Regions from separate parts of the Homo sapiens genome. Here regions 1, 2, 3, 4 and 6 are each linked to region 5. The links are contacts of gene promoters, found by promoter capture Hi-C in blood cells and fetal thymus (Javierre and others, 2016). All regions are on one chromosome and are shown on one strand. Each heading gives the region's core, a stretch centred on a gene start or on the middle of the fragment in contact. The rest is flanking DNA. Distances are from core to core; before and after follow the strand shown.

The links. Contacts are between HindIII fragments. The CHiCAGO score rates a contact against its expected background, and 5 or more counts as called.
Region 1: a fragment that was not itself captured here is called in contact with the fragment with the promoter of MTM1 in region 5 in 1 of 17 cell types (naive B cells); the score reaches 6.1 in naive B cells.
Region 2: a contact is called between a fragment that was not itself captured here and the fragment with the promoter of MTM1 in region 5, in 4 of 17 cell types (naive B cells, M1 macrophages, M0 macrophages and 1 more). The highest score is 8.7, in naive B cells.
Region 3: a contact is called between a fragment that was not itself captured here and the fragment with the promoter of MTM1 in region 5, in 1 of 17 cell types (erythroblasts). The highest score is 6.1, in erythroblasts.
Region 4: a fragment that was not itself captured here is called in contact with the fragment with the promoter of MTM1 in region 5 in 1 of 17 cell types (M1 macrophages); the score reaches 6.3 in M1 macrophages.
Region 6: a contact is called between a fragment that was not itself captured here and the fragment with the promoter of MTM1 in region 5, in 15 of 17 cell types (M0 macrophages, M1 macrophages, M2 macrophages and 12 more). The highest score is 15.9, in M0 macrophages.

What each region holds. Positions count from the first base shown.
Region 1 is chrX:149,623,731-149,627,993 of GRCh38, forward strand. All of the region lies in intron 1 of TMEM185A (transmembrane protein 185A), which reads right to left. Among named protein-coding and RNA genes, the nearest start is that of TMEM185A, 5.9 kb to the right of the region's middle. The HindIII fragment of the contact is 317 bases long and covers 1,474-1,790 here.
Region 2 is chrX:149,988,421-149,992,991 of GRCh38, forward strand. All of the region lies in intron 9 of EOLA2-DT (EOLA2 divergent transcript), which reads left to right. Among named protein-coding and RNA genes, the nearest start is that of EOLA2-DT, 52 kb to the left of the region's middle. The HindIII fragment of the contact is 2,699 bases long and covers 96-2,794 here.
Region 3 is chrX:149,863,324-149,867,711 of GRCh38, forward strand. The region is part of intron 2 of LINC00850 (long intergenic non-protein coding RNA 850); the gene reads left to right. Among named protein-coding and RNA genes, the nearest start is that of MAGEA8, 16 kb to the right of the region's middle. The HindIII fragment of the contact is 7,908 bases long and covers 1-4,388 here.
Region 4 is chrX:150,007,513-150,011,965 of GRCh38, forward strand. The region is part of intron 9 of EOLA2-DT (EOLA2 divergent transcript); the gene reads left to right. Among named protein-coding and RNA genes, the nearest start is that of EOLA2-DT, 71 kb to the left of the region's middle. The HindIII fragment of the contact is 2,165 bases long and covers 2,022-4,186 here.
Region 5 is chrX:150,566,097-150,570,295 of GRCh38, forward strand. It overlaps MTM1 (myotubularin 1), which reads left to right and starts at 2,525. Exons shown (of 15, transcript NM_000252.3): 1 at 2,525-2,566. RefSeq lists enhancers at 1-120, 121-1,042 and a silencer at 2,327-3,006. The HindIII fragment of the contact is 5,391 bases long and covers 635-4,199 here.
Region 6 is chrX:149,969,521-149,974,347 of GRCh38, forward strand. The region is part of intron 9 of EOLA2-DT (EOLA2 divergent transcript); the gene reads left to right. Among named protein-coding and RNA genes, the nearest start is that of EOLA2-DT, 33 kb to the left of the region's middle. The HindIII fragment of the contact is 3,804 bases long and covers 1,484-4,827 here.

The DNA.
Region 1 (4,263 bases), core at 382-2,881, 940 kb before region 5:
AATGAAACTGATCAGTAATCCCAACAGCTAGCTTTTTAAAAAAATTAAACTACAAAGTTGATCAAGTAAAACAAAGTAATACAATCAGTAAGTTCAAAAGATGTAATTCATACACACTCCTAGTTGGGGAAAGAAAGAATAGTATCTTAACTATATCAATATATTTGCAAGCAAAGTCTAAAAGGTGACTGCATAGCCAAAAGGAAATATCAAGCCTGATTTGCAAAAGAATACACAATAATATGCAATAATACAGTGATAAGAAAATGTATTTACAAAAATAACTTATGGTCATAGCCTAAACTACTTTGAGTTACTTTTCAAGAAACATTCAGACCAGATTCCAAGTATAAAAATAGACTGCTTAATTCTCCACAAACCTGGGAGAAATGGGAGGTTCTGGTTTAACATTAATCACTACTTCTTAAAATTCACTTTTCCAGTTACACCTTTAGAATGGATTTATTCCACTCTCATTTGAATCTGTAGTGTTAGTATACGATGAATCACTAAGTAGTGCTACCTGGGCCAAAGCTAGTATCCTCTCTGAAATTTACATGGAGCTTTCTGCTCAGGCTCAAATTCCCTCTCTCCACTTTGCAGGGTTGGGAGAATAGGGAGGGAGAAAAGGAAGAAGGGAGGGAGAGAGAGAATATACTTAGCAAAGGAATGATGACTCTGAATGTAAAAGTTCTAGTATCTGTTTTCTGCATATCATAAGAATGCAGCTGGACTCTTTTTAGACCTATCAGTTTTTTTCCAGTGGAAGCTGCTGGCTTCACTGGAGCACATACACGCGCATTAACACATGCCTGCATGCACGTACACACGCACAAGCACATACACACACACAAACTTTGGATGGCACATCCCAGTCTAAAGCTTGACAGAATGGCTCCAAATGACAACCTGACATACTCACAAACTATCAAGGGAACTGCCCCTCTTACACCTTATTAACCAAATTTAAAGTCTTTTAGTGGAGACTTTAGCTGGTTTTATTAAGATAAAAAATGTTTAAGAGCATTTAACCAGTAGATACAAAAAAGCACAAAAGCCAAATAAAAGCAGAGCCCAGGCCAGTAGGAAGATCTGCATTTAAGTTCCTCAACTGCCATTCATCAGCGGTGTGGTCTTGGGTGAGTTATTTTCCCCCAGGTCTGTCTCCTCATCTGATTCCTCATATACTGATTCATTAAGACAAGGGTATGTGAAAGCACTGTGTAAATGATACATTTTACCCATTCTAGCTTTAGCAGTATTATGAAAGACAAAAGTTCTGCCACATTGTAGGTAATAATCTCATTTAGCAATCATTGTTGTCACTATTAGGTTGGAGCTGACAAAGTATGAGTCTCCACTTATAAAGCATCTATCTCCAGAGTTCGAGGCTTTTGTCTTAAATTCCAGTCATCTTGTACAGGCATGACATATCAGGCAAAATGATTAGAAAACTCAAGCTCCATATTAAAAAGCTTAACTTCTGGAGTCCTAGGAAACTATCTAAAACTCCTTCAATCCACGGTCTCTCCTGTACAACAAAGACTTCCCAGTGGTAGATGTCTATTTGTACCCAACATCCACTCATTCAGCACGTAATTCAGCACCTCCAAATCCTGGCCCTCAAAGAACACAGCTAAGAACAATGTGTGTGTAATTATCAAGTAATAGGAATGATACTTTTAAAACTGGAAATTATACATTCAAATGAGATTTCTCTCCTTTAACCAGTCCCCTTGGGAGGCAATGCAGTAATTCCAATGGTACTTCATTACTCAAATCATCTTTGAAGCTTTCTTCTTGGAAGCACCTTGAGAACCTGCAGTCTGATCTTCTGACTATCCCAAATGGTGCTAAATTTTCACTGAGGGTGGATTCAAATTTTGGAAATGGCAAACAGTCAGTCAGAGCCAAGGTTAGTGAATAAGATGTGTGATCAAACTAGGTGGAACTATTTTGGTTGAAAATGATAGATGATCATAAAGCAATGAGATGGATCTTCTTATGTGATATGTAAACTGACTTTAAAGGGAATTCCAGATGAGTAACAAGGAGTATGAACAATGGAATAGGTGTATACATTCTCTTTCCCCAAGTAACCTCTTTGAATAACAACACTCATTTGGATGTATAAGCGCCACTAACAGGTTTGTTTTGTTTAATCACTTACAATTTGTAAATAGAGGGTTCCTTAGCATACTGGATCTACAATGTCATGGAGGAAAGGAGTTGTCACTTAACTAGAACTATGGCATGGCACGCAGGAAAGAGCACAGGCTTCATGAGACTGACGTGGATTCGAATGTTGACTTAGATTCTTCCTGCCTATGCAACTTCAGGGAAGTCACAAGCTGTCAAGACTTTAAAATAAGGCTGATACCTAATTTTGCAGGGTTGTTGTAAAGATCATGGATAATGGATGCAAAGCCCCTACATTGGGCCTGGCATGTGGTGGGTACTCAAGAAGTCACAGCTATTATTAACAGCAACATCAGTAAAATCAAGACCATTTTCTGACTGTAGGTGGCTTGAGAGGACAGAACAACAGATAAGCAGTCACTTGAGTGGTAAGTAGTTCATTGACAGTACTGACAGTACACTCGTGCATTAGATACTGCTTTCTTAAAAACAATAACCTGTAAAAACTATTTGCAGTAACTATGTATTTTTAATTCATACGACACATATCATCTGCAGTGCTCATACCACATGGACCTCTTCACTACCTGAACATACCAGGCACTATCATGACCCCATGCCTTTGTGTACTTTGTCCCTTCTGAGATACTGAAAGGGGCCAGCCCCTCCACACCTGTGGGTATTTCTCGTCAGGTGGGACGAGACTGAGAAAAGAAATAAGACACAGAAACAAAGTATAGAGAAAGAACAGTGGGCCCAGGGGACCGGCACTCAGCATACGGAGGACCCGCACCAGCGCTAGCCTCTGAGTTACCTCAGTATTTACTGATCATTATTTTTACTATCTTAGCGAGGGGAGTGTAGCAGGGCAACAGGTGGGGAGAAGGTCAGCAGGGAAACGTGAGCAAAGGAATCTGTATCATGAATAAGTTCAAGGAAAGGTACTGTGCCTGGATGTGCACGCAGGCTAGATTTATGTTTCTCTTTACCCAAACAACTCAGTGTAGCAAAGAGTAACAGAGCAGTATTGCTGCCAGCATACTTCGCCTCCAGCCACAGGGTGGTTTTCTCCTATCTCAGAATAGAACGAATGGGAATGGTCAGCTTTACACAGAGACATTCCATTCCCAGGGATGAGCAGGAGACAGAAGCCTTCCTCTTATCTCAACTGCAAAGAGGCCCCGCTCTTTCACTACTCCTCCTCAGCACAGACACTTTACGGGTGTCGGGCTGGGGGGTGGTAAGGTCTTTCCTTTCCCACAAGGCCATATCTCAGGCTGTCTCAGTGGGGGGAAACCTTGGACAATACCCAGGCTTTCTTGGGCAGATGTCCCTGCGGCCTTCCGCAGTGCACTGTGTCCCTGGTTAATCGAGAATGGAGAATGGCGATGACTTTTACCAAGCATACTGCCTGCAAACATATTGTTAACAAGGTACATCCTGCACAGCCCTAAATCCATTAAACCTTGATTCATTACAGCACAGGTTTCTGTGAGCACAGGGTTGGGACTAAAGTTACAGGTTAACAGCATCTCAAAGCAGAAACAATTTTTCTTAGTACAGATCAAAATGGAGTTTCTTATGTCTTCCTTTTCTACATAGACACAGTAACAATCTGATCTCTCTCTCTCTTCCTCACAAGGTACCCTTCCTACTCTCTGGTCTGATGACAACCCTACAATTCTAGCTCAAAAGTCTGGCTCAAAAGACTAGCTCAATTCAAAATCTAGCTCAAAAGTCATTTCCACTATAGACTCTTCCCTGCCTGCTCGAGACAGAATTAGTAGCTCTGCCATTTGTACTTCTAAGACATTTGGTTTCTTTCACTGTAATGCCTCATACTCTATTGAATTCTTATTTCCCTTTCATTTCTGCTTCTTCCACTAGGCTTACGCATTGAGAGGAGGACTATATTCCTTTATTTTTGTACTTAGAGCACCTAGTACATCACTTGGCACGAGATAGGAATCTAGATGTTTGAGGAATCAATGTTATAATATACTTTGCAAATAACTGTTAGAGGCCAGGTAGCTGACTTTAGTGAACTATATTACCAGCAATCGCATTCCTTTTTCCTGCTTCAAACAAGAGACAAGATAACTTATATGGACTCCAGAATGTCTT
Region 2 (4,571 bases), core at 195-2,694, 580 kb before region 5:
CTGATTGAATCAGTGTTGGCTGTCAAAGCTGCTGCTCTGAAGTGGTACACATCACTTCTGTTCACATGTCATTGGAAAATCAAGTCTTATGGCCAAGCTTGATGTCAATAAGCCTGGAAAATAAAAATAATCCTTCCACAGGTAAAATTATATTTTTGCCAAAGGAAATAAATAGCTGTGTTGCGTATAAAATTATGAATTGGTTTTTCGCAGAATTTTGAAGGCATTGCTCCATTGTCTCCTCGTTTTCAGTGTTGTTATTTAAAAGGCTGATGCCAATCTAGTTCTGGTATAAGAGTCTTCCGTATAAGCATTGTTTTTTTCCTTTGCTCTGAAACCTTTTAGGTTCTTTTTTTTTTTAGCCCTTATAATTCAGACATGTTTTGACAGTGTGACTTGGTATAGATCTTTATGCATTCATTTTACTGATCCTTCCTTAGGAGCTTTAAATGTGGAAATTTATGTCCTTATTTTTCTTACATTATGACTTTGATAATTTTCTCCCCTTCGTTTTTTCTTTCTGAAATTTCAATTATTTGGATATTAGACCTCCCATATTGTTCCTCTGCTTTTCTTGTCTTTTCCTCTCTTGGTCTTTATGTTCTTCTTTTTGGGAGATTTTCTTATTTTAATCCTTTTACTTTTTTGCAGTTTGATTATCATATTTTCAGTGTCCTTAAATTCCTTTGTTTTCTGTGTCTTCCTTTTTGTAGTATCCTGCTTATGCTTATGGATATAAATTTTCTCTTATCTCTGAGGATATTAATTATAGTTTTAAGTTTTCTTCTGTTATTGTATCATCTCTGTTTTCTCTGTTTGTTTGTTTTGACTTCTCTCATATTGGAAGAGTTCCTCAAATGTTTTGTGATCCTTGGCTGTCTATTCATATTGAAGAGTGGAACTCTCTTGTTTCCTGGGGGCAAAGGGAGAGGATAAAATAGTTATCTAGGTAGCTGCATGCTGAAAAGTATATATGGGAGCCTGCTGCTCCCTATACAGAGTTTTAATTCCTGTTTTCCTGTGTCTTATCCCAATTTCTGTGGTACTTGGTATTTCTAAACCCTTAAGCCTTCCCAGGATTCAATGGGGACTAATTGTTTCACTTTTCATTGGCATGTCTTTCTGCAAGCACTTAGGTTCTAACTTGCTTTTCCTTTACTCTCTGAAATAAATATTCGTTCTTCCCATCATTTCCTGTCTTCGAAACATTTATGGATAATTCTTGTCCACTAATGTCTCCTTCCCTGTTTTCTTAGTCTGCGTGGACTTAACACCTCTTTCTCTCTGTCTTTCTCTTCTCTCTCTCTCTCTCTCTCTCACACACACACACACACACACACACACACTTTTTATTTGCATTGTTTTAATTCCATTAATGAGACTTCGGGAGGGAGAGAGATAATCATGTGTTATCAGTCTGCCATGTTTAACCAGAAGTCAAGCTGTGGTAGAATTTTTTAAATGTAGTTTTCTTTACCTCATGCTAAACTGAGCATGGCCTTAAAATCTACCCCTGTTCTTTGAAATAAAACTAGCCTTATACTTGGATAGATGACATGCTTTCACCACCAAATTTTAAAGACAAAACTTGAATGTTGATGGAAATTAAAATGTGTTTAGCACTTTCTGACACTATGCATGGTAAATAAATAAATGAATGAATCAGTGAAAAGAAAGGAAAGTCACCATAATGGATACTCTTGAGTTTCCCACTCCAGCTGCACTCTCTACCCTTCCTTACCCTGCTCTGGGCCCCTGGAGACTGACTTCTATGGGCTGCATCAACCAGGCTCCCTTGTCCTCTGGCTTCCAGTTAGGTTTGACAATGCAACGTATCAGTGGGGGAGGGAGAAAGGATCAGAGGGTTGAGAGGAAAGCCAGATCTCAGTATTTACTTCTCCAGCTTCTTCTCTGCCAGGTCACATTTGGCAGTGGCTGTGTTCCACTATTTCATGCCATAGCTTGTGTTGGGTTGTCCCTCTCTGACAGCCTCAGCTTTTACCAGGTTCTGGTAACCATTACTCTCCTTCTCACTTCAGGTCGAGAGATGGTAGTGGTTTCTTCCTGCTACTGATCCAGGACCAATGCACCTTACCTTATAGGTTCCCTTAACCCTGCCCCTACCTTCAGTTACACCTTTTGAATGTGCTGTGTTTCCTGCCAAGACCCTGCTTGATACAAATGTTATGGTAGCACTGTCTCATTATCATCCATGTATTCTTGAACAACATACTCCACATCATGGGCCTCAGTTTCCATATCTGAAAAGTACTAAGGTGGCGATAGGTGGTCTGGTCTGTCATGTAAGAACTCCTTCCTGTTCTGACATCTCTGGTTTTATATGATGCAGCAGTGGTCAGTAGCCAGCTCTAGCTCTAAGTTCTCTTTTATAGACTTTGTGGACCATTGTGGATAATTCTGAGTGGTGGATGATCACAAAACAATTTCTTCCTGTCTTTGGGAGGCAGTTTGCTGGAGCAAAAGGATTATAGACTTTGGAGTCAGACCAGGGTTCAAATTTGAGTGTACTACTTTCTTACTATATGACCTTTAATCCATTACTAAACCTCTCTAAGTCTCACATTCTTCATCTTAAGATTAGGGTATATGATGGACACTGCTAGTTATCTATCCTAGCCGTTTTCTTTTCCCTTGCTAAAAGAATACTATTTTCCATTACATATGTAGCTGAACATTTAGTTGGATGTTTTGATAAATGCAGTTTGCATAGACATAACTAGTATTTACTACCATCTGATTCTCTCCTTCTGAAAGCATGAAAGACTAATTTCCAAGCTTCCTATAGTTAGGTGGGATCATATGATTAGGTCTGGCCAATGAGCTGTGAGGGAAAATTACCTGTGACACTTTGGGGCTGAAGTAGAAAAAAGCAAGTGTGCAATCTCTGTGTGCTCTCTTACCCCTGCTGAGGCAATGGGGAACAATCTCCATGGTGGAACTTCCATCAATCAAGGGTCCCTAAGTGACTATATGGAACATAGACACTCATAAACTTGCAGGCAACATGTAGCATGAGTGAGAAGTAAACCATTGTTGTGTTAGGCCATTGGGGTTTTGTGGTTGATTTGTCAGCTAATCCACAGCTGAAAAGCATCCCTACAGTTATAGGACATTATCTTTCTTGTAGGGTTGTATGGAACAGACTTTCTAGATTTGATTCCTAGCTCTGTTATCTATTAACTTGTACGTCCTTGGTCAAGTTACTTAACCTTTCTGTGCCTTGGTTTCCTCATCTGTAGAATGAGATTAATAATACCTTTTCCTCATGAGGTCAGTGTGGGTACTAAGGAAATTAATATACAGGAAGCACTTAAAACAAGGCCTGGCAGGTAGCAAGTGCTATGCAGCATTTTCTGTCAGAGATCATGTATTTCAGAGTGTCAAATACAGTGTCTGGCTCTCACCAACAACTTAATGCTTTATTACCTTTATTGCTGTCATAAGGGTTAGAATGATCCATGTAAAGTCTTCACATATGGTGGCCACTTAACACAATGGCACTATTATTTGATGACTGATTTTTGTGCTTAATTCTGGATATATGCCCCTCATTTTTTAGTTCTCTTAATCATTGCCCTCTAAGATTTCCTTCACAACATGGGAGGTAGTTAAGTGTATGGATTTCCAAGAGTAGTTCTGAATACGAAGTTAAGAAGATGTTGAAATGGCAGCAAAGCCTTAATTTAACAGGGAAGGCATTCATCAAAAGTGTTGTTATCCATAAGTTTGAAACCAAGGCGACCCACAGAGAAGCTACACTTGTGAAAATGAGCCTTGGATAATGAGTATTTCATTATATTTGCCATTTAGAGCCCTTACACACTGTCTGTCCATGCTCTTCATTTTGCAGATGAGAAAACTTAAGCCTAGAGAAGGGAAATGAATAGTCTAGGATAACACAGTCAGTTAACAGCATAAGCAGAACTAGAGCCCAAGTACACTGATTCTTGATCTGTATCTACATTTTGCATCTGTAAAGCTATACAATATTTCCTTCTAGTACTTGAATAAGAAAGTCATTGGCTTTTCATCTCAAAACTCTCAAAAGCTTAGCAGAAACTCAGAGATGTGGTTTCGGAGGAACCAGAGGAATTCAGGTGAGCAGTGTAAGGTAGAAAAAGTCAGGTTTGGTCTTGTAACATTTGTGCCATTTGAAAACTGTTGTCAGACAACTGCAACCCTAGACTCAATGTGAAAATTAAAGTAACTTTGCTTTTATGTGCTGTCCTTTTCAGAGCTCATCATCCATTTTGTTGGTGCCATTTTGCTCATGTCTTTGAATACATCAAAAGTGGCTTGATTTTCTCTTTCCTTTGCTGTCTATTCACTGGCTGCAAGAATGTCCTGTCCATTCCAGATTTTGGATGGGCTGTCCAGAATCACCACAGACTTCGCTTCTTAGCCAGCTAGAGGAAGGCAGAAATGAAAGAGCCCTGCCAGCGTGTTTCCTTTCTGTAAGTTTCCTTGGACACGAACACAGGAGCAGAGTTTCTATGGAGCAGCTGGTCTCCCCATTTTGGATTTTGCTGAGGCAGGTAGTTGAACTCTTT
Region 3 (4,388 bases), core at 764-3,263, 700 kb before region 5:
AAAACCACACACCTACAATCACCTGATCTTTGACAAAGTCAACAAAAATAAGCAGGGGGGAAAGGACTACCCATTCAACAAATGGTGCTGGGATTACTGGCTAGCCATATGTAGAAGATTGAAACTGGACCACTTCATTACATCATATTCAAAAAACAACTCAAGATGGATTAGAAACTTAAACCTAAAACCTAAAACTATAAAAACCCTGGAAGAGAACCAAGAAAATACCATTTTAGACCTAGGCCCTGGCAAGGATTTCACAATGATGCCAAAAGCAATTGCAACACAAACAAAAATTGACAAATAGGACCTAATTAAACTGAAGAGCATCTGCACAGCAAAAGAAACTATTAAGAGAATAAACAGACAATCTACAGAATGGGATAAAATATTTGCAAACTATGCATTTCACAAAGGTCTAATATTCAGAATCTATAAGGAACTTAAACAAATTTACAAGCAAAACAACAACTCAATTAAAACATGAGCAGAGGCCAGGCACGGTGGCTCATGCATGTAATTCCAGCACTTTGGGAGGCTGAGGCAGGCAAATCACAAGGTCAGGAGTTCGAGACCAGCCTGGCCAATATGGTGAAACCCTGCTTCTACTAAAAACACAAAAAAAATTAGCCAGGCGTGGTGGTGTATGCTTGTAATCCCAGCTACTTGGGAGGCTGAGACAGGAGAATTGCTTGAACCTGGGAGGTGGAGGTTGCAGTGAGCCGAGATTGCGCCACTGCACTCCAGCCAAGGCGACAGAGTGAGACTCTGTTCCCCGACCCCACCCCCCAAAAAAAAAGTGAGCAAAGGACATGAACAGACACTTTTCAAAAGAAGACATACACGTGGCCAACAAACATATGAAAAAATTTTCCACATCACCAACTATTAGAGAAATACAAATCAAAACCACAATGAGATACGATCTCAAACCAGTCAGAATGGCTACTACTAAAAAGTGAAGAAAATAACAGACACTGGTGAGGTTGCAGAGGAAAGGGAATTCTTATACACTGCTGGTGAGAATGTATGTTAGTTCTGCCACTGTGAAAAACCCAGTTGTGATTTCTGAAAGAACTTAAGGCAGAATTACCATTAAACCCAGCAATCCCATTATTGGGTATATACCCAAAGGAATCGTTCTATCATAAAGACACATGCATGCATATATTCATTGCAGCACTATTCACAAAAGCAAAGATATAGGATCACCTACATGTCCATCAGCAATAGATTGGAAAAAGAAAATGTGGTACATATACACCATGGAATACTACACAGCCATAAAAAGAGATCATGTCCTTTGCAGCACCATGGATGGAGCTGGAGGCCATTATTCTAAGTGAACTAACACAGGAACAGAAAACCAAATACCACATGTTCTCAGTTATAAGTGGGAGGTAATCATGGAGTCCACATGGACACAAAGAAGGGAACACAGACACAAGAGCCTATTTGAAGTTGGAGGGTGGGAGGAGGGTGAGGATTGAAAAACCATCTATCATGTACTATGCTTATTACCTGGATGAGGCGTGCACCAAACCCCCATGACACACAATGTACCTGTATAACAAACCTGCACAAGTACCCCTGAACCTAACATAAAAGTTAAAAAGGTATGACTTCTTATGAAGTCACACTTGAAATAAAACTTATTGACTTACTGAAGTCTTATTGAAATAAGACTATCACAATGACACCCTTACCCCTCTTAATTTTTTCTTACTTATGCTTACCTCATTCACTTGTCAGGATAATACCTGTACAACTGATTCTTGAATAAAGTGAGGGCTGGAGGCACTGACTCCCAATGCAGTCAAAAATCTACATATAACATACTACTCCCCAGAAACATAACTACTAATAGCTTACGGCTGACTGGAAACCGTAAGAATTAACACATATTTTTTTCTGTTTAATGCATTATGTACTATACTCTTACAATAAAGAAAGCTAGAGAAGAGAAAGGGTTATTAAGAAAATCCTATGTAAGACAAAACATATTTACTATTCATTAAGTGAAAGTGGATCATCATAAGGGTTTTGCATTTATATATTTTACGTATTTGTATATTTTAGTAAAATATATTTACTATTTATTAAGTGAAGTGGGTCATGATAAGGGTTTTTGTCCTCATCATCCACACTTTCAGTAGGCTGTGGAAGAGAAGGAAGAGGAGTGGTTATTCTCACAGTCTCAGGAATGGCATGAGCAGAAGAAAGTTCATGTATAACTGGACCGACACATTTCAAACCTACGTTGTTCAAGGGTCAAAAGTAGTTAGAATTTTACAATGATTAGATTCCATAAAAAGTTGGATATGCCATGCCAAACCCATATTTTTACATGACCTAAGAGAATTTTTAATCCACCCAGTAGCTAGCTTTATCAACATCCTTGATGCAATTGTTTATCCAAACTTTACTAGTAATCCCTTTTATAGAGTCAGACTTCCAGACCCACTTGACCTCACTCTCTGCTTTAATTTAGCCCTGTGATAGGATAGTAGATCATAGAACTGCAACCTTCTAGCTCAAAACGGAGGGATCTCTGCAGTTGCTAACACTTTCAGTTGCATGTGGATAAATAGGACAAACAGGCTGCTTGGTTAAAACAAGTAGATTCCTCATCTGGCTCATTCTTTGATCTGTTCAATTTCAGTTGGTTTAATTCATGGGAAGCCTGCCTAAGGGGCTGTTTTTAAAATTCCCAGCCAAACTGAGGTTCCAGTACCAGAGTAGCTGGTAAGGTTTCCATAACTGGAAATGAAGGGGAGCTTAAGGTAGGTGTTTCCAGTATGCCTTTCACAGGATAATTCTTGTGCCTAGTTGTCCAACCATTGATTAGGTAGCCCCTCATGTGGGAAATTTGTTTATAATGGCAGATGTCACTGTGGTTCTTGTCTAATCTGTGTTTCGTTTATGCCTGCCTGACCACCGTTCTGTCACATGGACCCTGATCTTGTGTTCCCCACAACATCCCAGGTAAAGCCTGGCCTTGGTTAGACACAGGATATTCAAATGGAAGGCAAAAATTCAAATTACCACCATGACAGGAAATAAGTTCAAAGATTTATTACTTACAGATCCTGGTCAGAGAGGGTTCAAAGAGTTGGGAGGACGGTTCTCTATTCCCTAATGATATGAGGCAGGAATGAAGAAGCAAAGAATCAGGCACAGAGAGAGGGAAGGGAGAGAGACAGAGACAGAGAGAGAGAGAGAGAGAGAGAGAGAGAGAGAGCAGTATAAATATAGAAAAATAGGACATGGGTCATGTTAAGTTCACAGGCAAATGCCTGAATGGTACTTTTAAAGTAAAAGATATGGAGGGAAAAACAGGGGAAGCCCAGTCTTTTAGGTGGGAGAGACACCTCTAAATTTTTATCTCTGACCAGAGGCTTGAGACATTTGGGTGTGATGTTCTACTTCAATTGGCTAGGCAGCAACCTTTGCTCTGTCATTCCCATTGCAAGAGCATACTCCAAACTCTTGGCATTATCCTCCTGACAGTCATAAGAGTGGTCTCCCTAGTTCACTGCATCCTCTCGAAAAGGCTTAGAAATCTCCATGCAGCCATCTGCTGAAGGCTAAATGGCCTCTCTCCAGCTGGAATGATGAAAGCTCCAAGAAACACATGACAACAAGGACACTGTAATATACAAATGGCATGTTAACACCAAAAATCCAAAACTGATGGTAACTGAGTGTAGCACTCATGCCCTCTGATTTGGCCACACTCTCACCCTGGCCAAAATGGGGGGATTGTGAAACAAAGTTAATGGGAGGCCATTGTGTCAGACCAGCCTCCTTTACTAGGCCCCAGAAGAACAAATCGGAATGGAGTCATTCATGCTAATTGTCATGAAATCAAATTGAACTTTCAAATGGGCCAGTTAAAAATAATTCGGAAAATTCCAATCCCGGTGTGTGATGTCCCCCTTCCTGTGTCCATGTGTTCTCATTGTTCAATTCCCACCTATGAGTGAGAACACGCGGTGTTTGGTTTTTTGTCCTTGCGATAGTTTGCTGAGAATGATGGTTTCCAGCTTCATCCATGTCTCTACAAAGGACATGAACTCATCATTTTTTATGGCTGCATAGTATTCCTTGGTGTATATGTGCCACATTTTCTTAATCCAGTTGTTGTGGGGTGGGGGGAGGGGGGAGGGATAGCATTAGAAGATATACCTAATGTAAATGACGAGTTAATGGGTGCAGCACACCAACATCGCGCATGTATACATATGTAACAAACATGCACATTATGCACATGTACCCTAGAACTTAAAGTATAATAAAAAATATATATATATTTAAAAAAAAAGAAAATTCCAATCAACATGAGTCAGCATAATCAGGAAGTCTCTTCCACTTTAGTCCTAAAT
Region 4 (4,453 bases), core at 1,854-4,353, 560 kb before region 5:
CAAGTACTTCGGGGCCAGCAGAGCTAATGCATGAGGAAGTTTGAAGGAGAGGAATTTCCTGAGTGGAGAGGAATTTCCTGACCTAGAGTACAGGGGCTACTGGCTTCTTTTTGTTTGGTGCCTGCTGTTGCTTGTCTGGTAGCTTAGACTCAAGTTATTCTGGAAGCAGTTAAAGGGTAGAAGAAGAGCAGACCTAATGTGTGGGACTATTCTTATAAGGTATGACAGGATTTAGGGACCAGGCAAAGGGTGCAAAGCCAGTATCAGCTAGTCCAAGGTAAACCCAGTTCAAAGGAGAAGAGTAAATGACCTAAGTGAGCAGCAAAGGCAGACCATATTTGGACACTAATAATGGTGAATTTTATGTGTCAACTTGACTAGCTTATGGTGCCCAGTTGTTTGGTCAAATACTAGTCTAGATATTGCTGTTTAGGGATTTTTTTAGATGAGATTAACATTTAAATCAGCAAACTTTGAGTAAAGCATTACCCTCCATAATGTGGGTGGGCCTCATCCAATTCATTGAAAGCTTTGAGATTAAAAAAAAAAAATGTGGTTTCCCAAAGAAGAAAACATTTGGCCTCAAAACCGTAACATGGAAACCCTGCCTGAGTTTCTAGGCTGCTTGACCAGCCATGCAAATTTTGGATTCCAGACTGTAACATCACTTCTTACCCGGGTTTCTAGCCTGTCTGCATGTGCAGACTTACCATCTCCCACAATCATCTGAACTAGTTCCTTAAAATCTCTAACACCTGAAAGGAACAGGACTCCACAAAGACCAACCTCTCTGACAGTCCTGCTGAAATAGTAAAACGATCAAGCATAGAGTTTTTGTGCTAAACATTCCAGGGGTGCTTATTTATTGAGGAACAGTGTTTCTAATCTTCAAGAAATTTTATTCCCTGAGAAATTTCCCCATTTATTTTAATTTGCTTGTGCAGTCTTTTAAGTGGGTTATATTACTTTGTACATGGATCGCTTTGCTGTGCTTTTATATGAAAATCATTATTAGTAGTCAACATAAGATACAAAGTGTACTGCTTCTATAAAGCTTATCTTACAGCATATATATAGCCTGCTGAAAATATATTGCTCATTTGTTATTAAAAATCCTACCCAAGTAAAAAAAAAAAAAAATCTCTCTCTCTCCCTCTCTCTCTCTCTCCATACGCAGACACACACACACACCCCCATGCACGCACGCGTGCATGCACTATGGTTGGAATGTTGTTTGTCCCCTTCAAAATTCATGTTGAAATTTGATTGCCATTGTGACAATATTTAGGAAGTGGGGCCTTTGAGAGGTGATTGGATCGACAGGGCTCTGCCCTCATGAGTGGATTAATGCTGTTGAGTAGGAGTGAGTATGTTATAAAAGGGCAAGTTTGGCCCCCTTTTGCTCTCTCCCTCTCAGCTCTTTTGCTCTTCTGCCATGTGAGGAATAGTGTTTCTCCCTCTGGAGGATGTAGCATTCAAGAAGCCGTCTTGGAAGTGGAGACAGCTTTGACTCGATGCCAAATCAGCTGGTACCATGATCATGGACTTCCAGCTTCCAGAACTGTGGAAAACATATTTCTGTTGTTTATAAATTACCCAGTCTGTGGTATTCTGTCAGAACAGCACAAAATGAACTAAGACAATGTGTTTGTGTGTGTTTATGTGTGTGCATGCACATGTATGAGCGTGTGCATGTGTGTGAGTGTGTGTGTGTATCTCCTATTTGTTCTCTCTGGATAACCATGACTGAAACAGATATCATGAAGATAGCAATGCGGCTTTGAGCAGAGACAGTTGCAGGATTATGGAGAGCCTTGAGTGAGCTGTCATTATGAGTTCTTTTACCCCAATAGTCATAAAATATTGAGTAATATTTGAGTAATAATAATTAATTATTACTATGTCTACTAAGTGAGCATATATTGTGCCATAGAGGTTGGTTGGCATGATTTCTATTGACTCAGATTTCTGAGATGCTAATCCAGAGCCTGAGTGGAAGTCTCTCATCTTCCTGTCAGAGAAGCTTTACTCTCCTGAAGAGAGCACCAAAAGCTGGGTATCCTCCATCAGGGAATGGGGATCAGACTAGAAAAGGCCTCCAGCTCTGTCAGGTTAATACTGGGATCAAGAAGGACTTTTTATATTAATGGAGTCAATGCCATTGAAAGTTAGCATTCATTTAGTCCACTTCTTCATTGTATACATAGGGAGAGTGAACCTGAGAGAAGAGAAGCCACCTTTATAGGCCACACAGCAAGTTGGTGGCACAGCCAGGCCTCACACTCACATCTCCTGACAATAAGTAAGGTAGAGAAGAAAGGAGAAGGAAAGAGATAAAGGTTGTTTGCTAGAAGAGAAGTCTGGATTCCGGTTGTGCTTTTTCTATGAGCCATTTGGTGAGTAATTGTCCCAAAGTTTGGAAGTGTCCCAGTTTTCACAACTGGATAGAATGGAGGGAAAATAGAAAAGTTTGAAAAGTAAAGTGAAATAACATAGACAACATATTTATAAGGGCCCCTAACTGCTAAATTACAAAATTGAAAATGATCTATATAGTTTTCATTGATGAGTAAATCTGCTTTCTGGTGGACTTCTCTAGTGGCAACAAGGCTACTGCACTCAGTCTCACCACCTTGACCAAAGGCCAAGTTTGCCCTTGTTAAAATAAAGGTACACTGTGCTTGCTGTGGGGCCAGGCTTCCTTATTTCTCTCCTATATTTGTTCAGGAATTTGGTTCTGTCCCATGAGGATACTAAATTGCATTGATCAATGAAAATGGCATCTGTGCTTGTTTGTTTTAACTTGACTTTGATAGCTTCATCCATTAAACTTTCAATGAAGTTGTAATTTCTTTAAAAAAAAAAACCCTAAATTTAAAAACATGCTGGCAGTTCATAATTACCTTGGTATATATCAAGATGAATCAGTGAAGGTGACTCTCTTTCCTTTGCATTTAGTATTGTTGCTTTGTGCCTGTATTTTCTATTTAGGATTTATTAGTGTAAATCCCCCTTATACATCATTGAAAGCATTAGGATTTATGTAGTGTTAAATCCATATCAGGATTTATATGGAATTAAATCCAATCTAAGAGACAGGTGGATAACCTAGTGGGGTTTTGTACCCATAATTTCTACCGCTCTTTGTGGAAAAGCATTTCATTACAAACTTTCAGATTTGGGAAGGCAGTGTTCTGCAAATGGCACCTATTAGTACCAATGTGGAGCGTTTTACTGCACTTTCCATGTAGTCCCTGGGCTCCTCACTGAGAAGCATCCTCATGGCAAAGCATCTTTCATGGCCACGAGGAGGACATTAACCTCTTCTCTGCTCCTTCCCTGTTTGGAGCACAGCACAGCTTTGATTAACTCTTTAAAGAGCCTTCTGTTTACACCCTCTCACAGATCTGCAGACAGTATTTGCAAAGCACATTGCAATTTTTGACAGCAGGCACCACTGGGGTGGGGAAGATACTTGTCAGCTTTTTCCTTTGGTGACTTTCCTTCCATTTTTTTTTATCTTTTGAGGGAATGAAAACTGCTCCAAGTTGGTGCTTGCTATTCTCCTTTTTTATTTCTTTTCTCTTCTTTGTATATGCTTTTCCCCATCCCATATACCAACTGATGGGGTGATTGAGTGACTTTCATCCATTCAGTCAAGTATTTACTGAGTCCTACTTCATGCAAAGTACTGTACAATGTACTGAGTTTTTAGAGTTATTTCTTTCTGGGGTTGTTGTCCCTTTTTAAATTATAAAAATAATACATACTTATGGTAAAAATGCACAGTACAAAAGCATATAAAATGAAAAGAAGATCCTCTTCCACATCAAGCTCCTAGTTTCACTCCTTTGTATAACATCAATAACAATTTCTTACATATCCCTATAAAAATTTTCTATATGTATATAAGTGTGTATGTAATGTATACATTCATACATATATGTACATATAGGTAACATACACACATTTACTTATATATGCTTTCTTAGAAAACTCAGACTGGAGCATGGTAAACACAAGTTTTGTACATCCACTTCCATGTTGTATCAGGCCATTTGCTTTGCTATAAAGAAATACCTGAGGCTGGGTAATTTACAAAGAAAAGAGGTTTAATTGGCTCATGGCTCTACAGGTTGTACAGGAAGTTTGCTGCTGGCATCTGCTTCTGGTGAAGCCCTCAGAAAGCTTACAATCATGTGGAAAACGAAGGTGGAGCAGGCACATCATATGGTGAGAGAGAGAACAAGAGAGAGACGGAGAAGGTCCCAGTCTCTTAAAAAAACAGATCTCATGTGCACTCAAAGTGACAACTCACTTATCACCAAGGTGATGATGCTAAGCAGCTAAAGGGGCTGACCAGTCACCTCTCACCAGGTCCCACCTCCAACATTAGGAATCACATTTCAACATGAGATTTGGAGAGGACACACATTGAAACCATGTCACATGT
Region 5 (4,199 bases), core at 1,275-3,774:
CCAAGGGCAAGGCGGTAACCCCTCCATAGTGTACAACCTTGTTTGTTTGTTTGTTTTGAGATGGAATCTCACTCTGTCACCCAGGCTGAAGTGTAGTGGTGCAATCTCAGCTCACTGCAACCTTCACCACCCGGGTTCAAGTAATTCTCCTGCCTCAGCCTCCCGATTAGCTGGGATTACAGGCGCCCACCACCACGCCTGGCTAATTTTTTTGTATTTTTAGTAGAGACGGGGTTTCACCATGTTGGCCAGGTTGGTTTCGAACTCCTGACCTCAAGTGATCCGCCCGCCTCGGCCTCCCAAGGTGCTGGGATCACAGGCCTGAGCCACCGCGCCCAGCCCATAGTGTACAACCTTTACAGTTTTCAAAGTGCTTCCTCATCTGTTGCCTCATTCGATCTCTGCACCTACACCGTGAGACAGGCACGGCAGGGGTTACTCTCTCCATTTCACAGGCCAAAGGCTAATCTTCTCTACTGGCCCTTTCTGGTTGAATTGCATCTTTCTAGAGGTGGGGCTGGGCTGGGGCTGGACCCTGGAAAAATCTTCAGGAATTACCTCCTTAGGATGAGACCATCCCTGCTCTGCACCTTCCCCACCTCCTAACCCCCAGCTCCTCCCAGCTCCATCGAAAAGCTTTGGCCTCATCTTGGGACACTTAACCAGGCCTATTATATGCAAGGTATCCCAGGCAGCTGCTGCCCTCCCTCCACCCATCCCCATTTTCCTCTATCCCTCTGCCCTAAGATTCACAGATACCAGGAATCCAGAGTTATTCAGCAGCCCACCAGGGAGCCTCTCTAGCATGCAAATTTACTGAGCGTGCTTTGAAATTCAGCACAAAAGTGAATGAGATTCAAAGGAGTTCATAGTCTGGGGAGGGGAGTTGGCAGAGCAGACGTGTAAGCAAATGATGACATCAGTACAACAAGAAGGGCTGGGTGGGGGAGACTTCTAATTGTGCGGGGGCCCAGGAGCAGCTGCTATTCTGCTGTCTTTCCAGGAGTTTGGCAAATCCAGGAGAGAGGACCAAGTGGAAAGGGCTGGAGGAAAGAAAAAACCCAGTGCATCAAGTTCCCTGGAACTAGGCCAGAGCTTGGGGTGAAGAGCAAAAAGAGGCACACTGGGAGAAGTGGCTAAAGAGTGGGTTGGGTTGGATTCTGGATGGCTTTGTTACTCTTCTAAGAAGTCTAGACTCTTCAATAAAGCATATATATATGCATATATAAATGATATATGAATATATGTGTATATGTGTGTGACTATGTAGAAACACACGTACACATATACACTGGTATCAGGTAAAATGCTGTTTTTAGATGCTGGAGAACTAACACATACAAGAGAAAAAAAACAGGTCATGATAAAGTCATCCTATTTACTCGAACTGCTCGCGTATAAGTATTATGCAGTACAAAGAATATTATGCTCATTTTTCTATGTGCCAGGTTGTCTTTTCTTTTTTTAATTTTTTTGACACGCAGTCTCGCTTTGTCACACAGGCTGGAGTGCAGTGGTGCCATCTCAGCTCACTGCAACCTCTCCCTCCCGGGTTCAAGCGATTCTCTTGCCTCAGCTTCCCGAGCAGCTGGTATTACAGACACCTGCCACCACGCCTGGATAATTTTTGTATTTTTAGTAGAGACGAGGTTTCACCATGTCGTCCAGGCTGGTCTCGAACTCCTGACCTCAGGTGATCCGCCTGCGTTGGCCTCCCAAAGTGCTAGGATTACAGGCGTGAGCCACCGCGCCCGGCCCAGATTGTTTGTTTTATTTGATTACACAATGAATTCTCTTCTTGAAGTTTGCCTTTCTTCTCTTTTTCCTGTCCCTTTCTTTTTACTGTATCAATAGTTGTCTGACCCAAACCTCAACAAGTAGAAGGAATTTTGGACTGAAATGTTTCCGTTCACTAAGTCTCAATTGCGTTCTTGGAAAGGTGCTGGCACAGCTGAGGGACACCCCAGCTGTTAGTTGAGTTTGTGAATTGCAGATCCTGCCCCAGAGTCAGTGAAATTTCTTTTTCCCTTATACTATCTCAACTTTACGCAGCCAACCCTGTGTACCCAATAATAGCTCAATTTAGTGGCATCCGCTAAAGTCTTGTATAGAGAAGTTTTCCCTCTGGATTTCCCCTTTACTGAAGAAAAATGGGGAGACCCAGACAAGGGTCCCGGGACTACGCTTCCCAGCCGCCTCCGCCCGGCGCCCAGTCCAACTTCCCTTACAGGGATGGCCCCTGGCATCTTGGCCCCGCCCATCCCCAGCACCATATTGCGAACTACAATTCCCAGCTGCCTCCATGCGTCGGACCCTTCAAAATGGGCTTCCCAGCAGCCTCTCGGGCGAAGAGCCCCGCCCTTCGGAGCTGCTCCCCAGGTCGACCCGGCGCACTCTTCCTGCCCCCTGCCCCGTCACGTGATGCAGTCCCGCCAACCGGCACGGGGAGGCGGGCAGCGGGCGGTGGCCGGGGGCGGGCAGGCCGTGGGGGGCGGACCCCAGAGGGGGCGGAGCAGGGCCCGGCAGCCGAGCAGCCTGGCAACGGCGGTGGCGCCCGGAGCCCGAGGTGGGTGCGCGCTCACGGCTGGCCTGGCTCGGAGCCGGGCACTGCGGGGACCCGTGGTGAGGGGATCGGGAGGAGGAAGTTGGGACTCCTTGGGCCAGCGGGTCGCGCGGGGCCTTGCCGCACCGTCAGGGTTGGGTGGGGGTTTCGTCCAAGCGCCGTCGCTGTCCCCGCGGGGCAGGGCTGAGGCCAGGGAGCAGCAGGCAGGTACCTCCGGCTTCCTCCCGTTCTCCCCGCCCAAGGTGGCCGGCCGGCGGCGGGCGAAGGTCGGGACGGGGGTAGGGGTTGGCTGGCCGTGGAGCTGGGGGCGGACGTCTCAGCCACTGCCTGGACTTTGCTTCCCCGTCCCGGGGCGGTGAGTGGGCCGGGCGTCCGCCCTGCCTCCCCGGCGACGCTCCGCGGCTGGTCCTCGCCTTGGCCCTCCGCACGGAGCGGGCGTCCGTCGCATCCCCGGTGGGCCCTGCGGAGCGGCCGCAGCCCGGCACTGGCCGCGAAGCCTCGATGGCCGCTCTCGGCCAGTGTTTCTGTGTCATACACGAGAGGTTTATCTGCTTTTGCAACAGTTGAGGGAAGATCTTAGAGGGAACGGTTAGTTCCCTGATACGCAGTCGGAAGTATGTACAGGCACGAGCAAGCGCCCGTGGCCGGGTTGCCTCCCTTAACTGTCTTTTGCTGCGCTCAGGAAGTGAAAACTAATTTTAGTATTTGCCTAAGCAAGTAAGAAGTGAATCTGCTGCAAAAATTATATTAGAGCTTTATAGACGCACGCATCGTTTGAGGCGAAGTGGGTTGCGACTGGTTTTGAAACAGATACACCAGATCTTCACAAGAATAAAATTATAGCATTTTAGAATTGACTGGCATCCTGAAGTTTACATTGTTCATTTGTTTCCTGGATGGGGGAACTGAGGCCCAGAGAGGGTAACTAATATGTCCCGGGCTTCAGGGCAACTTAATGGCAAAGCTAATATCACAAGCCAGCTCTTTGGGGGTATCTTGGTGTCTGTCTAGTCTGGATTCTTTTTACCACAGCTCAGTATTATTCCTTGTGAAATAAGCACCTTAGAGTCTTGAGACTGAGCCAGCAATTTTGCTAGACTGCAAACCATTTTGAATTTCCTTCAAAATCGGTTTACCAACCAAATAAGACAATCAGGCCTGTTACTTTGCAGACACGTTTGCCTTCATCCAACATATATATTGGGCACGATCATGTATTCACCAGATTTGATTCTGAATGGCTTTTGGCTGCTTCACAAAATCAAATCTACTTTTCAGAGATTCCACACCATGGGGGAGATTTGAACCAGTGGTGCTGCCTGCAGCACCAGTGTATAGTACCCTCCCGGGTGCTTGAGGGTGGATAACATTCACGGGGGGCTTGTAGATTCTAGTGTAGTTAGTAAATGATTGGTCTCTTTAACTTAAAGTTCTAACTACATTTATTAAGTTGTCGATGGTTTCATTCATTCATCAAACACAAGAATGCCAACGGTGGGCACTGGGAAGACAGCAAAGAGCCCCACTGCTGAGGTCCCTGCCTTATAGAGTTTATATGTGGGGAGGCACACAATAAAAAAATAAACAATGATATATTTTCTGGCAGAGATGAGCGCTATGAGAAAAAATAGAGCTC
Region 6 (4,827 bases), core at 2,136-4,635, 600 kb before region 5:
TTGTCTCTTGTCACTCCAGAAATATTCTTCTGTCTTTTAATGTGTTCCCTCTGCTCAGATGCTTCTTCCTGCCTTCTTTACTTAGTGAACCACCATCTGAGATTTCTTGGAGGTAGACACGATCACATGGCTGGAATCCAAAAGGGATGGTCGATAAGAACCGGCTTCAGTGAATGTGGATTTACATACTTTCTGGGAGCTCTGTATGTAAAGGAAATGCTTCCAGCCCTTCCTCGCTTGGCTCTTGGCATATAACTTCTGATGGCTCTCCTGCTTTAGTAGTCACTTTTGGAGCAATGAGAGATCAGATTCCTTTAGTGGCCTGGGAATGATGTCACATGGTGTTATTGATAGAAGCCTGCAGAGCTTGGGATTCTGAGAAGCAATCTTCAGACTAGAACTTACCCCAAGAGAATGAGCAACTCTATGGTAGAGGGCGAGAGCCTCGAACAGGCCCAATAACCTCTAGTCCAAGGACTTTGGGAAGTTTTATGGTCCCTTCTAGGCCTACAGGATACAAGCACTCAGGGATAGCAGTGTTTTTGGGTAAAGAACAGTGCGGGGCTCTGGGCTCAAATTCCTGGGGGCAAACAAATCAATTTGGCTCCCCTCAGCTCTGTGGGACTAAACTTTAAAACTGCCCCTGGGAGTGACCTCCCCAGGATAATCTCAGGGTACTCAGTACTCACCTGAGTAGACAAGCCCCAGGAAGACCTGGATGAGTCTTTGGAAGTCATCTTTTTAGCTCAGTTTTGCCTGCTCCACCAGGATCCACACCCTTTACTATGGAAATCTGAGTACGAGTTAGGGCAGATGTCAGTGAGGAGAAGGATTGGAGCTCAGTGACCTTTCCTCAGTAGTGCTTACTTGTGAAGCCTGTGTCCTTAGGAAATTAGCGCTGCCTCTGCCAAAGTGGCTTTTTACTGTGTTATCCTTTCCCAGAGTGCACTTCCAGTCTCGTTTAGGCCAGTGTAGTTCCTGTTGAGTTAAGTGGCTGTGAAAAAAATGTTTTCTGAAAGGAATTCGGAGGAAAGATACCTTATTCCAGTGAACAGTTTGCGAACTCAGGAGACACAGCCTTTTGTATAAAAGGAAGTTATGTTTCAGAGAACAAAGAGAGTGTTTGGGTTTTATAGCAAAAGTTTCTGCCTGAGTTCCTAATCAGGTTTATTTATGCAAATGAAATATTGAAATGGGCTTAGTTCTAGTTGGTTGATGCAGCTAAGTTCTGATTGGTAAATACAGCTAAGCCCTAATTGGTTGGTATAGGTGAGCTCTGAAAGTCCCAAAGTTAAAGAGAGGTGGGAGTTTTTGGGAAACTCAGAGTGACCTTTAGTCAGCAAATGGCTGCCTGGCTGTATTTTAAATTTAGGCCCAGTTAGCCACTTGGGATCCATCTTGAAGGATTGACTCTTTTAGGTTCATATTTGTTCACATGTGGCTTTCTTCCTCTGATACCTTGGTGAGCCTAATGGAGACTAAAAGCTTAGTTAACTTTGGCTTTAGGGAATGAAATTATTTCTGGCTGAGACACTAAGTAGAAGCTAAAATTGCAGAAATATCTTTATAATACTATGTGAGAGTTTACAAAAACTCTCACATACATTATTCAATTTATTAAATCTTCACACAAGCTAGTGCCTGTCCCTTAGTAATCACATGTTTAGTGTATGAATGAACATGGAGGTTTTTGTTTTATTTTGCTTTGTAGAGAGACAGGGTGTCTCTCACTCTTGCCCAGGCAGGAGTGCAGTGGTGCGATCATAGCTCACTGCAGCCTTGAACTTCTGGGCTCAAGTGATCCTAATGCTTCAGCCTCCCAAGTAGCTAGGACTAAAGGCATGCACCATCACTAATGCCTGGCTGTTTTTTTTTTTGTAGAGACAGGGTTTCCCGGGCATGTCTTGAACTCCTGGCCTCAAGTGGTCATCCTGCCTCAGCCTCTCAAAGTGCTGGGATCATAGGCATGAGCCACCACACCTGGCCAAACGTGGGGATTTATTGTGCCTATTTTACAGTTTGGCGAACTGAGGTCTAAGCAGCTGAATTGAGTTTCCTAAAATTCAACTCTACAGTTAGCCAAGTATGGAGCCTACACTTGAAATTAGATCCATTTCAGGTGAACATTTACTAAGCATCTACTAAGTGACAGGTACTTATCAGTGATGAATAAACATGTTCCTTGGTTTTGAGAGCTTATAGGCTTGTCAGAATATGAGCAAATAATTTCAACACAATATGCTAAGTGTCATGATAGAGAACTTTGTGTGATGCCGTGGAGTCATACGGAGGGGCACCTAATCCAGTCTGATAATGTTGTGAAAGACTACCTGAAGAAGTGACACCTCAGTTAAGTTTTGAAGGTTCATTGGAGATTGGCCAAGGGTAAAGATATTCTAGGCTGAGAGATCAGCCCCAGTCAGGGCACAGAGGTGCAAACCAGTATGGTATGTTTTTAGGATTGCTGGAGTATTCCTTGCCAAGGGGAAAATGGCAGAAATGATGACTTAGAGAGGTAGGTGAGATTCAGATCATTGAGTACGTAGACTTTGCTTTGTACACCATTAGTTACTACACATTGCTGAATTATTGAAATCATCTGGGGAACAGGCATTTTCTTAGTTAGCTAGATTTGAGAGTCACATGTGGAGGCAATGAGTGACATAGACTGCCCTGTTGCATCACTCTGGTGACAGTCTACATGGAGGCAGGTAGATTTGAAAGGGATGCTACTAGACGCCTAGAGACCATTTTGAAGGTCACTGAATTCATCTAAGAGATATGGTGGACTGTATAAGGCAGTAGCAGTGAGGACAGAGAGGAAGAGGCAGATGCAAAATGGTGAAACTCTTACGATGTTGTGGGGAGGATTGGTGAGGGAGAGAAAAGTGTCTAAGGTAATTCTCCAGGTTTCTGGCATGGCTGTCTGAGTAGATGGTGGTATTTTTGACCAAGTTCAGGAATGAACAGTGGAGATAGAATGTACAAAAAAATTGGATAAATTCAGCTTGGAACCTGCTGAATTTGAGGTACTGTGGGACTTCCAGAGGGGAGAGCAGCTATTTTGTTCTGGAACTCAGGATGTGTCTAGGCTGGAAATACAGGTCAAGGCCTCTATGTCTGGGCAGTTTAAACCCAAGTGAATAGTAAGACATCTCTCAGAGAGAATGTGTGGAGAGTGCATCTTCAATAATTCTACCCCCTTTCGACTTCAAAGGCTGTTCCCATGGGGAAGCAGAAGCAGCGTATTTCTCTCTCTCTCTTTTTAATGTTTGAGGCAACAAGGGATACTGAAAATGCTATAAAAGGTGGAGTTAGAAAACCTGAGTTCAAGCCCTGCTTCTGACACTTCACCACTCTGCAACCGTCAGTAGTTCCTGAGCCTCTCTTAGCCTCCAGGTCTTCATCTGTGAAACAAGGGTAGTAGGAATAACTGCTTCACAGGATTATTAAGATAGTCCAATGAGAATGTGTATGTGGAAAGTGCTGTGTAAAGAACCATAGAAACATCATTTTTGTTGTTGTTGTTGTTTGTTTGTTTGTTTTGTTTTTTTCCCCTAGAAACTTGGACCAATATGTAGGAATTACGGGGAGACAGATTTGGTCCAATATAAGGAAAGACTAATACTTTGACTGTTGGATGATGGGAAGAGCTTTGGGAGATGGGAAGCTCTGAGGCTCTGGATATCCTTAAGCAAAAGCCAGGTTTCTGGGCATATGCTGAGCGTTTTGTTGTCAGGGGTTGGGTCATCCTGCATGACCTCTGAGTTACCTTTCAGGCTCAGATAGAATTTGAGTTACTAGAACACTTATCTACCTATTTTCTGAAATTTTCTACACTAAGTAGATTTTTTAAATTGTAAAAGCAATACAAGCGCATGGTCTTTCCCTTTGACTCTCTTAAAGTACTGGGCATTTTGGATCCTAAGTGGAGACTTGGTTTATATACCCTGAATAATGGGGCAAACTGCCTCATGTCTTACTGCATGAGGCATTTATGGACAGACATTTTCTTAATGTTCTTTAATGAGATCTCTTTAAAATAATAATTTTTTTCTTATTTTCAAGCAGAAATGATATTATAAAAAGCTAACAAAATATTGCCAAGTAGAGGTCTTGATCGAGTATACTCCAATGAGTAGGTAAAGGTCATTTGAAATCAGCACACTAATTATTTATATGCAAATGAATTTGTTAGAGAGCTTGGAAAGAGTTGTTCTCTGAACTGGGTTAAACATCCCCTAAGAGCTCATGTTTATACTCTTAATTTACTCAGAAACCTGTTGTTGCTCTTTCTTTTTTTTTTTTTAATTATACTTTAAGTTTTAGGGTACATGTGCACATTGTGCAGGTTAGTTACATATGTATACATGTGCCATGCTGGTGCGCTGCACCCACTAACTCGTCATCTAGCATTAGGTATATCTCCCAATGCTATCCCTCCCCCCTCCCCCAACCCCACCACAGTCCCCAGAGTGTGATATTCCCCTTCCTGTGTCCATGTGATCTCATTGTTCAATTCCCACCTATGAGTGAGAATATGCGGTGTTTGGTTTTTTGTTCTTGCGATAGTTTACTGAGAATGATGGTTTCCAATTTCATCCATGTCCCTACAAAGGACATGAACTCATCATTTCTTATGGCTGCATAGTATTCCATGGTGTATATGTGCCACATTTTCTTAATCCAGTCTATCATTGTTGGACATTTGGGTTGGTTCCAAGTCTTTGCTATTGTGAATAATGCCTCAATAAACATACGTGTGCATGTGTCTTTATAGCAGCATGATTTATAGTCATTTGGGTATATACCCAGTAATGGGATGGC